Regions from separate parts of the Homo sapiens genome. Here all the other regions are linked to region 3. Evidence: promoter capture Hi-C in human tissues and cell types (Jung and others, 2019). All regions are on one chromosome and are shown on one strand. The core of a region is centred on a gene start or on the middle of the fragment in contact, and the rest is flanking DNA. Distances in the headings are between cores, read along the strand shown.

Region 1 (2,700 bases), core at 166-2,665, 75 kb before region 3:
CCTGGGCCTATAAAAACCTGAGTTCCTAGTGGGGAGACACAAAGGCAGCCAGACGTGGAGAGGAGCACATCAGCGGATAAAGATACAAGCAGCTGGACAGCGAGAGGACGTGGAGGGAGAATGCCAGTGGAAGAGCACACTGACAGACATGGGAAGAGGCGGAGTTTGGCCGGGGCAGTCGGAGACCCAGGGCCACTGAGTGGTGGGACTCCAGAGGAAAATCATCTCCCTCTGGCTCCCCCACCTGCTGAGAGCTACTTCTACTCAATAAAACCTTGCACTCATTCTCCAAGCCCATGTGTGATCCAATTCTTCCAGTACAGCAAGGCAAAAACCTGGGATACAGAAATCCCTCTGTCCTTGTGATAAGGAAGGGGTCTAATTGAGCTGGTTAATACAAGTCACCTATAGACGGCAAACTAAAAGAGCACCCTGTAACACACGCCCACTGGGACTTCAGCTGTAAACATTCACCCCTAGACACTGCCATGGGAGTCGGAGCCCCACAGCCTGCCCATCTGTATCCTCCCCTAGAGATTTGAGCTTTGGAGCACTGAAGAAGCGAGCCACACCCCCACTGCATGCCCTCCAAGGGGCACGAGGGAACCTTTTCCATTTCATTACCTCATATGGCAAAATAATTTTATTAAGTTAAGGATCTTCAGAGGAGGAGCTTATCCTGGCCCTGAATGGAATCACATGTATAAGAAAGAGGCAGAGGAATTTTGAGACAGACACCCAGAGAAGAAGACACAAAGAGAAGGAGGACTCAATGTGACCACAGAAGCAGAGACTGGAGTCACATGGTCACAAGCCAAGGAAGACCTGGAGCCACCAGAAGCTGAAAGAGCCTAGGAACAGATTCTCCTCTACAGCCTTCAGGGGCAGCACAGCCCTGCTTAGTCCGTTTTTCATTGCTTATAACACCTGAAACAGTAATTTATAAAGAAAAGACATTTATTTCTTATAGCTATGGAGGCTAAGACGTCCCAGGTTGAGGGGCCACATGTGGTGACAGCCTTCTTCTGGTGGAGACTCTGCAGAATCCCAAAGCGGCACAGAGCATGACATGGCAAAGGGGCTGAGCGTGCTAGCTCAGGTCTCTTTTCTTCTTCTTATAAGGCCACCAGTTCCACTCCCATGATAACCTATTAATCCATTAACCCACTAATCCATGAACGGATTAATCCATTCACAAGGGCAGAGCCCTTACGACCCAATCATCTCTCAACACTGCCACACTGGAGATTAAGTTTCAACATGAGTTTTGGAGAAGACAAATGTTCAAACCACAGCACTTGCCAACATATTGATTTTGGACTTTTGGTCCCCAGAACTGTGAGAGAATACATTTCTGTTGTTTTTAGTCACCTGATTTGTGGTAATTTGTTACAGCAGCCACAGGAAACTAATACATTATCCTAAACCATCCACACTCTAGCCAAGCCTCCAGCTGACCCCAGATGCATGAGCAAGCTCAGCCAAAATCAGATGAACCTGGCCCAGATTAGAAAAACCGGGAACCCACTGGGTCATGAGTATTAATAAACAGTAGTGCTAAGCTACTGTTTTGTAGCAGTTGGTTACACAGCATAAGTTAGCTAATATGGTAGCTTTTCCTGCTCCTTTATTTCTAATTCTTCAAGTACTTATGTTTATCGAACCTATTCAAAGACACAAAATAAACTGTAGCCAATTTCGTTATTATTCCAAAAGGATTTTACATCCCAATGCCATAAGATTGGCAGCTTCCCTGTCTCAGTGACATTGGGCTTTGTTTTATGACTTGCTTCAGCCAAGGGCACATGAGTGGTTATGACACATGCCACACATGAGTGGAAGCTTTAAGAGCTGTTGCACATTTTGGCCAGCTCTGTTTCCTCCCTATGCCACAAAATAGCATGTCCTCAGTAGTGTTTGCCTCTTCACGCTGGATTTTGGAATGATAAGGACGGATGAAGCAGAGCCTAAATCCAATCTGCAGCTGCCACAGCCTACATGTAAACTGAGTGATAAATACATCTTTGCAGTTGTAAGCAAAGTTGGGGATTGTTTGCTATGCAGAATGGCCTTGCAAAGCTTGACTGATAAAATTATTAAAGAGTAACCCTCCAAAGAAATCACTTGAGTGAAGAGTTTAGTTCTAACTTTACATTAAAAAAAATTTGTTTTTTTATTGTGCAAGATGTAAAATATACTTTCAGTCTCTATGGGTTTCTCTTATTGAAAAGGATCCTTTAGTTATCTAAAATAGCATATTTCTATAGGATATAGTCTGTTAATTACTCATTAGATAGCGATACTGCCAAAATATGTCAATGTAAACATTGTAGACACTGCCAAGTTTATATGACACCAAAAAAAAAGAAAAAAAAAATCAGCACAGGCTGCTCTTTCATGGAGACCTTTAGTATGCCCATAACCCTAGCATGCTTTCCCCCATACATGCATATAAGGAAGGAAGCCTTCCCTCTATGTGATGAGTATCTCCTAACTTCTATGCTAATGAACAGGATAAATGCTAACAAACTGATGAGTTGCTGAGAAAAATTAATGCTCCTTTGTGAGTGAGACTGTGAGAGTGAGAAGAGTACTTACTGGGCTAGGGATAGAGTCAGGATCCAGCTTCTTCTGGGGCTGTGGCGGACCAGCCATCTGTGCAGGACCTCCAGGGAAGCCTCCTGGGTAAGACAGTTGTGC
Region 2 (2,700 bases), core at 3-2,502, 89 kb after region 3:
ACAGCTCTTAAGGCAGCGCGTCTGGAGTTATTCATTCCTCCCGCTGGGCTCGTGGTCTCAAGAGTGAAGCTGCAGATCTTCGCGGTGAGTGTTACAGCTCATAAAAGCAGCGTGGACCCAAAGAGTGAGCAGTAGCAAGATTTATTGCAAAGTGCAAAAGAACAAAGCTTCCACACTGTGGAAGGGGACCCTAGCGGGTTGCCAATGCTGGCTAGGGCAGCCTGCTTTTATTCTCTTATCTGGCCCCACCCACAACCTGCTGATTGGTAGAGCCGAGTGGCCTGTTTTGTCAGGGCGCTGATTGGTGCATTTACAATCCCTGAGCTAGATACAAAGGTTCTCCACGTCCCCATCAGATTAGTTAGATACAGAGTTTCCACACACAGGTTCTCCAAGGCCCCACCAGAGCAGCTAGATACAGAGTGTCGATTGGTGCATTCACAAACCTTGAGCTAAACACAGGGTGCTGACTGGTGTGTTTACAAACCTTGAGCTAGATACAGAATGCCGATTGGTGTATTTACAATACTTGAGCTAGACATAAAGGTTCTCCACGTCCTCACCAGAGCAGCTAGATACAGAGTGTCGATTGGTGCACTCACAAACCTTGAGCTAAACACAGGGTGCTGATTGGTGTATTTACAATCCCTGAGCTAGATAATAAAGACTCTCCACGTCCCCACCAGACTCAGGAACCCAGCTGGCTTCACCTAGAGGATCCCGCACCGGGGCTGCAGCTGGAGCTGCCTGCCAGTCCGGCGCCGTGCGCTCGCATTCCTCAGCCCTTGGGTGGTCGATGGGACTGGGCGCCGTGGAGCAGGGGGTGGTGCTCGTCAGGGAGGCTCGGGCCGCACAGGAGCCCATGGAGGGGGTGGGAGGCTCAGGCATGGCGGGCTGCAGGTCCCAAGGCCTGCCCCGTGGGAAGGCAGCTAAGGCCCGGGGAGAAATCGAGCGCAGCGCCGGTGGGCCAGCACTGCTGGGGGACTCAGTACACCCTCTGCAGCCACTGGCCTGGGTGCTAAGTCCCCCATTGCCCGAGGCCGCAGGGCTGGCCAGCTGCTCCGAGTGCGGGGCCTGCCAACCCCACGCCCACCCGGAACTCCAGCTGGCCCGCAAGCGCGGCACGCAGCCCCGGTTCCCGCTCACGCCTCTCCCTCCACACCTCCCTGCAAGCTGAGGGAGTGGGCTCCGGCCTTGGACAGCCCAGAAAGGGGCTCCCACAGTGCAGGGGACTGAAGGGCTCCTCAAATGCCACCAAAGTGGGAGCCCAGGCAGGGGAGGTGCCGAGAGCAAGCGAGGGCTCTGAGGACTGCCAGCATGCTGTCACCTCTCAACTTGAGGAGACACTAGCCTTGTGGGTGGGATCCAGCCATTCTCCTGATGGCAGGGAAGAGCTTCAGAGGCTAGAAATCAGACATGTCTGGATCATAATCCTACCTTGTCTGTGGAGCATCAACTCTGCCCTATAGAAATTTCTGCATTATGTAGGCCTTCTTTGAACGTATATCATGGTGAGTAGTGCTTGACCTTGTACAGTGTTAGCAATCCCACTTTTGACATCTCTAAAGCAACCCTGTAGGTTTATGGCATTGCCACTTATAATTTTGCAAAGACATAACTTCCACTCAGGAGTTCTGCAAGCCTGGTTCCAGGTAGTAGGTTACTAGCCAAGTGAGTGAACCCAGCAAATAGGACCTCATATATAGTCCAACATAGTTTTGTTGTTATCAAGTTGCCGTTGCATGAATATTTTATGAGGGAATTATATGCTACTGTAGAATTTGTGGATTGGGAATTTTCTAAGATCTTTGGGTGAATTCCTTGAAAACGTCAATGGCTTATGATGTCATAACTTATTGATTTTCTAGTTGCAACTTGCTTCTTGGCCAGATTTGCCCATCTAAATTTCAAGCTTCTCTAGGAATGAGCCAAGTCACATCTTTCCCTTTGTTCCCCACAATTTAGCCCAAAGTTGCCCTCAAAGCAAGCATTTAACCTGCAGTTGCTGATTGATTGAATTACTGTATCTTGTTGTCATTTTATTTACTTTTTAGAATTCTAGATAATCATTTTCTCTAATTGTTCAGTTGCATCAAAAATAAAATATGACCGTTTCCCTAGCATAGTAAAAAGTGCAGTAAAACACAAAAGAGTTGGGTCTAGCATTAATTTTTTGACAAGAAAAACATGACAAACCATTTGCAGGGAAACTTCGGCTATACCTTATCCTCGTCACCAGTTGGCTTATGAATAATCAGGGTAATTTATATTACCTTGTTCTGTTTACTATATATATGTGTATTCCAATGGATTTTCCACTTGTCCCAATGATTTCCTGAAACGGAAAAACATTCAACTTCATTTACAAGGTAATGATTATCAGTGCCCAATCAAATCTCCCTGCTTCCAGATTTTTTAAAAAATGTTATTTATTTTGAGAAATGATGCCAGGACTTTAAGACTAATCATAGGTACAAATATACCTGTGTATTTCATGTGAAATACTCCTGCCATGACACACACACACACACACACACACACACACACACACACACTTAGCCCATTTGTTGAAAAGTGCCTGTAACCTTTTTATGTATAGGACTCCCTTGTCCAACTTATTGTTTTATCCTATGTAGTGCCCTTGAATTGAATTCTGCTTTTCAATAACACTGGCCCGCACACATAGCGCATTCTTACATC
Region 3 (2,700 bases), core at 158-2,657:
TTTGAACTGCATTGTGACAGGAGGTACTCCTTATAATTTTCCTTTTGCAAACATTTATTCCTTGATTGAATCCACCACCACTACAGCTGCCCTCACTCACTGATTCACCAAAAATTGGGTCCATGATTATCTTGTTTTTATTAATCTTTCTTAAATGCATGTGTAGCTGACATTTATTTCCATGTTTAATATTAGAAGTGTTTTAATCTTATTTAAAAGTTTGGTGATGTCTTTGTGACCAGAAATAGACTGTAGTCACTTAACCTTGTTTTTATCAATTAGTCGATGGTAAAATTGGTTTTAAAGTCACAGTTTCCATGAACCTATCTGTGACGTTTTAAGTGAGGACTTACTGTATATAGTGCTTCTTAGTGCTGAAACAGGCAGCGTGTCTGGAAATTTTGTTTGGTACCACAAGTAACACAAACAAACTTTCCCAGGCTCTTCCTTATTTAGTATGTTTTTATGTGGATGAATGTTATGGAAAACAAAAGTATTATAGGAAAATTAAAATGTCCTTTTTGTACATTTTTGGCAGATTGTATTCAGATTTAAAACATTTAAATATTTGGAATATACAAAATCTGCTTTTATATTGGACCACCCAGATTCATGACATGGGATGACAAACTATAAAAATAAGAAACCTGTAGGTGACATTGTACATTTTATGCAGTTGACTAACTGTTGGGTTTGGGTTTAAGAAGATCAGCAGGTAGAAAGAAAACAAAACACGTTAAAATTTAACATACCCAAAACTATGCAATAGATGTAATTATAAGAATGTAGTTTCCAGGAGAAAAATTCATATTCATTTTCTCTCTTTCTCTCTCCCTTTCTGTCTCTTCTCTTCCCCTTTCTCTAAATATATGGTTCAGAAAGGTACTTTTCAGAGCTGGAGGTTTATTAACAAAAAGTTTGTGCTTTCTTTTGTTTCCTCTTATAGGAATAATTCAGCAGAATGCAGACAGAAAAGTAGTAATTTAACTCATTTTAACTCTTTTTTGTCTATTCCATTCATAAATGTGGCAAGTCTCAAAACATTTATTTGAGAGAATCTAATCCTCTAGTAGTTGAATTCCCAACGCTCCTATTTTAGGACGTCATTCATGGCGTGGAGATTAAACCTTCATGTGTCCTTTACTATTTACAGAATTATTAAATGTAAGTTTTTCAATCATACTTATACCATTAACTGCTTGGATTTAATCTGTTAGTGCAAGATAACTTTGGCTCTCCCTTCCGTCCTCCTTTCCCTTATCTCGCCCCACGTGAGGACATTCTCCTGTGTGTGAAGCTGCTTTCCTTTCCTCGAAGGTGGGCCGAGCAAAGGAGAGTGACGCAAGAGTGGGCTGTGTCCTGGATGCTGCGAGCGCCTCTGCCTCCTTGAGAATGAGCCCATTAGCCGCACAAATTCGCAGCAGGCGGCTGGGGCGGCGGCTGGGGCAGCGGCTGCAGCAGCGGCGGACGCTCTGCATTACCCAGTCTTGCGTCCTCGGCAGGCGCCCGAAGCTGAGTGCGCATCCTCTACCGCACCCAAGCTTCGTCTGTCTCGTCAAGCTCTTCATGCTGCCCAACTAAAAGGAAAACATGGGCACAGGGGATTTTATCTGCATTTCCATGACTGGAGGGGCGCCCTGGGGGTTCAGATTGCAAGGTGGCAAGGAGCAGAAGCAGCCCTTACAAGTTGCAAAGGTAGGACCTGAACGAAGTGTCACGGCTCTGTGCTAGGAAGGAAGGAATGAAAGCAACCTGCTGATGGTGTTTTCAGGTTCTGATGCAGAAGTCTAAGTATTATTTGATTTTGCTGCGGATATTAAGATTTTTCTAGGAAGTGAGTTATTTTCTAAGAAACTTTGGAGAGTAATGGGCCACATCCTATGTAATTAACTTGCAATCGATGAGGGGTGGGTGGGAAGAATGCCATATTTATCAGCTGAGGAAAAGGCCTAGTTAACCATGTTCTTCTGACAACAAGCAAGACACTGGGGAGCGTTTCTTCCAGGCAATTTTAGAATGTTCAGTTGAGTTATTGTTTGATGTCACTTCACTTGGCTCTGGCAGAGGAGAAACGCTCAGTTCAGCATAACGACTTTGCTTGGCTATTTTGGGGACTCATATAGAGTGTTGGTAGTGACATTTATTATGCAGCATTCATGAAAAGGCCAATGTTGGGCAATAATTTTAAAAGTATGATGAAGTGTCATAAAATCTATTTAAAAGAATACCCTTTTAAGGATTTGACAAATAAATGCAAAAATCCAATAAATGCTGTATTCCTTCTTATGTACTCTTTTGGTCAAGATCTCAAAAATAAACTTAGAAGATAATCTAAATATATTATGAGTAACTAAGAGGTAACTTTGTAACACATTAATAACTATTTAAAATGCTTTAAGTTTTTATTGCCATTAGATTGCCTGCATTACTGGTTAGCCCAAGGGGATCTGGTATTCTCTAATTGGCATTCAGCTAAAATAAAACTTAAAATGCACAAAACTAAGCAAACTTTTACCTAACCTTATCATCAAATTGCAAATTATAGTATTGTATTGAAGAACATGCAAGAGCATGGGATTAATTTCCTATTTTATGCTTATATTAAAAATGGGTACAGATCTTTATGAAATACATGGGCCATTGCCTTTGTAGTTATTGTTTGTTTCCCTCTGGCTTTTACTCTTTTTTTTTTGTAGTTAT

What was found. The method cuts DNA at HindIII sites, captures the fragments that hold promoters and counts their contacts. A contact is called where the count stands out against the background at its distance.
Region 1: a fragment that was not itself captured here is called in contact with the fragment with the promoter of SYNPO2 in region 3 in 2 of the 25 tissues and cell types used here (IMR-90 fibroblasts and aorta).
Region 2: a fragment that was not itself captured here is called in contact with the fragment with the promoter of SYNPO2 in region 3 in 2 of the 25 tissues and cell types used here (aorta and bladder).

What each region holds. Positions count from the first base shown.
Region 1 is chr4:118,812,430-118,815,129 of GRCh38, forward strand. It overlaps SEC24D (SEC24 homolog D, COPII component), which reads right to left. Exons shown (of 23, transcript NM_014822.4): 6 at 2,599-2,700. Among named protein-coding and RNA genes, the nearest start is that of SEC24D, 22 kb to the right of the region's middle. The HindIII fragment of the contact is 4,377 bases long and covers 1-2,700 here.
Region 2 is chr4:118,976,278-118,978,977 of GRCh38, forward strand. All of the region lies in intron 1 of SYNPO2 (synaptopodin 2), which reads left to right. SYNPO2-AS1 (SYNPO2 antisense RNA 1) reads right to left here. Exons shown (of 3, transcript XR_939120.3): 2 at 2,274-2,335. Among named protein-coding and RNA genes, the nearest start is that of SYNPO2-AS1, 7.1 kb to the right of the region's middle. The HindIII fragment of the contact is 3,224 bases long and covers 1-2,700 here.
Region 3 is chr4:118,887,447-118,890,146 of GRCh38, forward strand. SYNPO2 (synaptopodin 2) reads left to right here and starts at 1,408. Exons shown (of 5, transcript NM_133477.3): 1 at 1,408-1,695. The coding sequence starts at 1,591. The HindIII fragment of the contact is 17,765 bases long and covers 1-2,700 here.